2 separate regions of the Homo sapiens genome follow, and region 2 is linked to region 1. The links are contacts of gene promoters, found by promoter capture Hi-C in blood cells and fetal thymus (Javierre and others, 2016). All regions are on one chromosome and are shown on one strand. The core of a region is centred on a gene start or on the middle of the fragment in contact, and the rest is flanking DNA. Distances in the headings are between cores, read along the strand shown. Region 1 holds the start of PIK3C3 (phosphatidylinositol 3-kinase catalytic subunit type 3). Region 2 overlaps KIAA1328.

Evidence for each region. Contacts are between HindIII fragments. The CHiCAGO score rates a contact against its expected background, and 5 or more counts as called.
Region 2: a fragment that was not itself captured here is called in contact with the fragment with the promoter of PIK3C3 in region 1 in 1 of 17 cell types (non-activated CD4 T cells); the score reaches 8.0 in non-activated CD4 T cells.

What each region holds. Positions count from the first base shown.
Region 1 is chr18:41,953,833-41,956,532 of GRCh38, reverse strand. PIK3C3 (phosphatidylinositol 3-kinase catalytic subunit type 3) reads right to left here and starts at 1,299. Exons shown (of 25, transcript NM_002647.4): 1 at 1,174-1,299. The coding sequence starts at 1,241. RefSeq lists an enhancer at 1,342-1,521. The HindIII fragment of the contact is 3,603 bases long and covers 1-2,562 here.
Region 2 is chr18:36,838,966-36,841,665 of GRCh38, reverse strand. All of the region lies in intron 3 of KIAA1328, which reads right to left. Among named protein-coding and RNA genes, the nearest start is that of KIAA1328, 11 kb to the right of the region's middle. The HindIII fragment of the contact is 1,202 bases long and covers 759-1,960 here.

The sequences.
Region 1 (2,700 bases), core at 50-2,549:
GCTTTTTCTTTATTTTTAATGTTCAAACATTTCAAAAAATGCATTCATATATCCAAGAAATACTGAGCATCAAGCTGAAGGAAAGCCCTTTATCAATATTGATCCTGTATAAACTACTAGTGGTGTATGCTATGGAAAATACCTTAAATGAGTGTATAAAGTATCATACAAAGGTACAAGGTGGTTGTTGACATATTACTTTTACCACCACCACCACAAACTAAAAAGTAAAGTATTTGTCAGCGAATAAGGGACTTCTGAAAATAAAATGAAATGATCATTCAAAGGTACATCAGACAACTGAGAAAATTTATCTATCACTTACTGCAGGCCTTTGACCGACACATATTTGTTGAATATTAATTGAACATACACAAGAAATGTTTATTAATTATGGATGATGCTATGGTCAATAATTTGTGATAGCTTTGACAACACTCCTACATGACCACCTTAAAAGGGACATAATTTCCAACTCTGTCTTGTGCATCCCTCGTCATTATACCAGTTCTATTATCCTCATCTCAAGATATCACGCCCTTGACCTTTACTTCAGCCGTGGTGCCCCAACGTTTTCCTGCAAAGACTCTTTTCTCCTATCTTCTTGGTACCTTTGAAACTGGAACCCTCATCTTCGACTTACTCCCAACTTCCCTGACTAAACACTGCCATACTACCCAAAGATTCACTCTAGGCCTCTATCACCTCCCGTGCTAATACACCATGTGCTCATCTTATTCTCAACTATCGCATCTGCCTGTGTCTACCTCTCCATAATTTCTGAAGCCTTCATTCCACCCTACAAGCCCCGTTCCAAAATAAAGATCGTCCTCTTACTTACGACGAGACTTGATTTCTTAATTTACAATGAAATAGTAATAAACTCTCAAAAGGCTGAACAGCAAAAACTTTAAAGACTGTAAAATACAGCGGAACTTAAGGGCTATTCCTACTGCTGTGCTTCTCACGGAGACCACGTATTAAATCCTTTTCCAAAAGAGCCCCTCTCCACGATCCACTCTCTCGCGCCTCCCTGGCTACAGCCCTCACAGCCGCCCCCAATCTGGGCCTTGAGACGAGTCACGTACTTTCTGCCTCTCACTCCCAACAGGCCCCTGCCCCCACGTCCCTACGCCCCAGCAATCCCACTCCCTGTCCCGAGTGTTCTCTTACATCTTAAGCTGGACGTTGATATCCAGGTCACAACTATAGATGTAGTGAAACTTCTCTGCTTCCCCCATCGCACCGTCTGCAAAGGTACCACCTACAGCGGGAACTTAGGTACAGGAAAAACAACATAAATGAACCAGCTGAGCCCCACAACACGGAACTTCCGGTTCCGCCCCCGCCAGCAAGCCGCCAATCCACGCCCGGAGCGAGTTCCGACGCGGCGGAACTCCCCGCCGAAACAACCCTTCCGCGCATGTGCACAAGGCGCCCACCATCTTGCTTAAGGGCAAATGTATACGGGAAACGGCTAATCTGGTTACATTCCAGTTTTCCTGTCTTGACAGCACTTTTTTTTTTTTTTAAAGAAAAAGAGACGCTATCATTTGAGCTTGAGCTGTACCTAAAACAATACGAAAGAAAATTCAATTCAAAAAGAATTATAACAGCTTTCACTGGCTGCCGGCTAAACAGGTTACAAGCACAAAAATTGGAATTTTGCCAGGTTTAAATTCCAGTGGCCTTCCCAAAAAGTGTAGCACTAATTTGCTATCTCAAGCAAGGATTTTCTCTTTCTGCTCTAAAGAGTAGGGAAAGGACTAAATAGAGAATAAATAAATCTGGGTTTCATGTTTGGTGTTGTCAGTATTCATGCTACTTTGGACATAATACTTGCGTGCATGTTTAAACTGGGAATATTCAAATTCAATGTAGTTTCAAGCCCTAACCCAAGTTAGAATCTAGAGGCCTCCTGTAATAACTACAGAACACAGATCTCTAAACCCTCTGAGCTCCTATAATGTTTGTTTTTATAATTATTATAATCTAAAATTGTAATACTCCCTTCCAATTAGATTGAAAACTCTTGGAAGGTAAGACCAGTGTGCCATTTACTTCCGTGTCTTGCCCCGCTAGCTGTCTAATGCATTGCTGAGTTTAATACTTCCTACTTACTGGTTATTAATGATGATATTGAATGAAAGTCTCCATTTTCTATGCCTTTATTTCTTTTTTTTTTTTTTTTTTGAGATGGAGTTTTGCTATTGTCGCCCAGGCTGGCACCATCTCGGCTCACTGCAACCTCCATCTCCTGGGTTCAAGCGATTCTCCTGCATCAGCCTCCCAAGTAGCTGGGATTACAGGCACCCGCCACCCAGTCAGGCTAATTTTTGTATTTTTAATAGAGATGGGGTTTCACCATGTTGGCCAGTCGGGTCTCAAACTCCTAACCTCCAGTGATCTGCCTGCCCTGGCCTCCCAAACTGCTATGTCATTTCTTTTTTTTTTTTTTTTTTTTTTTTTGAGACAGAGTCGCTCTGTTGCCCAGGCTGGAGTGCCCGTCTCTCTGTTGCCCAGGCTGGAGTGCAGTGGCGCGATCTCGGCTCACTGCAAGCTTCACCTCCCAGGTTCATGCCATTCTCCTGCCTCAGCCCCCCAAGTAGCTGGGACTTCAGGTGCCCGCCGTCACGCGCGGCTAATTTTTTGTATTTTTTAGTAGAGTCAGGGTTTCACCGTGTTAGCCAGGATGGTCTC
Region 2 (2,700 bases), core at 110-2,609, 5.1 Mb after region 1:
TTGAGTTGTTGAGACAGATGTTACAGCCTGCAAAAGTTAAAGTATTTACTACCTGTCCAATTTATAGAAAAAGTCGGCGAACCCCGATATGGAAAAACAAAAGAATTATAAAGTTCAGGATACGAATTACCAAAGAAGAAAACATGATGAGGAAAGGCCACATATCTACAGTCACTTGACTTACAACAATGGTATCATTGCAATTCAAAGAAGAAAAGAATCCTCTTCCCAGTAGATGGTGTTGGGCCAATACTGACAGTCTATTGACCCAATACTGGCAGTCTATGGGCCCAACACCATCTATTGGGAAGAGGATTCTTTTCTCTCTGAATTGCAGTGAATCTTACTTTACACTACATGTGCATATTACTTCCTGATGAATAGTAGGCTTAACTGTAAAAAATAAAGCAATATGGCCACAAAAGAGAGAGGGAACTTGCTGCAGAGTATAATCAGCTAACAGCCTCCAGTTGCCAAACCTTTGGGATCCACTGCACTGTTCATACCAACACCAATGACTGGGAACAGTAGAGACACTAGAACTGAGCTATTTCTGATCCAAATGGCATCCTCAAAAGGCAGTATTTGCTCTGGGGTTCCTCACTAGCAAAAAGGACACTTATCTCAGATTGCATGGCAATCTGAAGTCTGAGGTTCTTCCTAGTCAATCTTCCTTCTTTTCCTCTCCTGTCACAGGTGCCAGACTGTAGTGAAATCTGAAGATTCCTGCTCATTCTACTCTTTATGCTTTATAAGCTTTTCCTTCATTAAATCTCTTCCATTTCTAATTCCATCTCGCGGTCTGCTTCCCAGAAGACTTGAACTGACCTAATTACCACTGTGAAATCCTTAATGAATTAAGGATACTCAACATCAATACCAACAAAGACTACACAGAGAAAAAAATCACAAGATGGCTGGGCACAGTGGCTCATGCCTATAATCCCAGCACTTTCGGAGGCCGAGGTGGGTGGATCACGAGGTCAGGAGTTCAAGACCAGCCTGGTCAACATAGTGAAACCCCATCTCTGTTTATACAAAAATCATCTGGGCATGGTAGTGCGTTCCTGTAATCCCAGCTAGTTGAGAGGCTGAGGCATGAGAATTTCTTGAACCAGAACCCAGGAGGCAGAGGTTGCAGTGAGCCGAGACCATGCCACTGTACCTGGGCTACAGAGCCAGACTCTGTCAAAAAAAAAAAAAAAAATCACAAGACATGCTCTTCAATGGAAAAAAGGAAAAGAAAAAGCAAACCACCATTTCTAGTTTTAAGAAAAAGCACACATAGACACATATACCCCCGACAATGTAGGACATCCTCTTCTAGCCCAGATGGAGTAACAGGGACCAGATTTACCCTAGTTTCAGAAAACAAAACAAAACAAAAACCTGACAAAAAAACAGGAAACAATAGTTTTCATTGGATAGCAGGCAACACAGAATGATCACTGGAATTGCAGAAACAAACAAGGCGAGCCCTACAACTGTCCCAGCTAACTGCTGTGGAGAGTTTTCAGGGCTAAGGTAGGTAAATCCAGACAGAGCCCAGCAATCTCCCTGAGTTGAAAAGATACAGCTGGGAGTCCAGGAAAGCCAAGGTTTCTAGTGTTTGCAGAAACACTAGAAACCTTGCAGGGCAAAGTAATGCCAAGGATAGAGCTGCATAGGAGAGCTCCAGGGATCTGCAGAATCCCTTCGCGTCAACTACTGAGCACTGACCAGCATATGTATGTGAGAAAACTACTCATCCCGGGGAAAGAGCCCAAAATGAACAGTGGAAACAATTTCTGTAGCTAATACAGCATAGGAGAACAGTCTGTTCCCACCAGCCAGAGGGGAAAACCTTGTAATTTAAGGGGCATCAGGAAGAGTATTCAAAAGAGTATGGCCTACAATGGGCAAAATTACCCCTATACTAAAAGCTGCTCTGGCACCACCTTTAAAAGCTCAAAATGAAGCTTGGAAAGAATCAAATTGCTTCCAAATAATTTATCACTGTCTCAGAACCCAAAAAGGCAAAATGCATACTGTCTTGTGACATCCAATAAAAGACAACCAAGCAGGCAAAGAAGCAGAAAAATACAGCCTATAATTAGGAGAAAAATTGCTCAATTGAAACCTATCCACAAATGACTTGGATGATAGAATTCATAGTCAAGAATATTGAAACAGTTATTATAACTATGTTCCATATGTTCAAGAACCTAGAAGAAAGCATGTCAAGTAGCGACATGGAAGATGTAAACAAAAATAAGAGACTGAAACTGAACTTCTAAAGATAAAACTACATTGTTTCATATGAAAAACACACTGGATGAGATTAGTGGCAGATTAGACATTGCAGAAGGTTAATGAATTTGAAGACATAGCAACAGCAATACAAACTATCCAAGGATAAACAAAAAAATTTTTTAATGAAAAAAATATGAACAGAGGATCAGAGAGCTGAGAGGGTAACTTCAAGAGGCCTAGTATTTGTGCAACTAAGGTCACTAGAAAGAGAGGGAAACAAAAATATCTGGAGAAACAATGGCTGAAACATTTCCCAATTTGATGAAAACTATAAACCCACAGTCCCAAAAAGCTCAACAAACCTCAAACAAAAGAGATACTTTAAAAATTACTCCAAGGTAGGATGGGCATGGTGGCTCACACCTGTAATCCCAGCACTTTGGGAGGCCGAGGCGGGCAGATAATGAG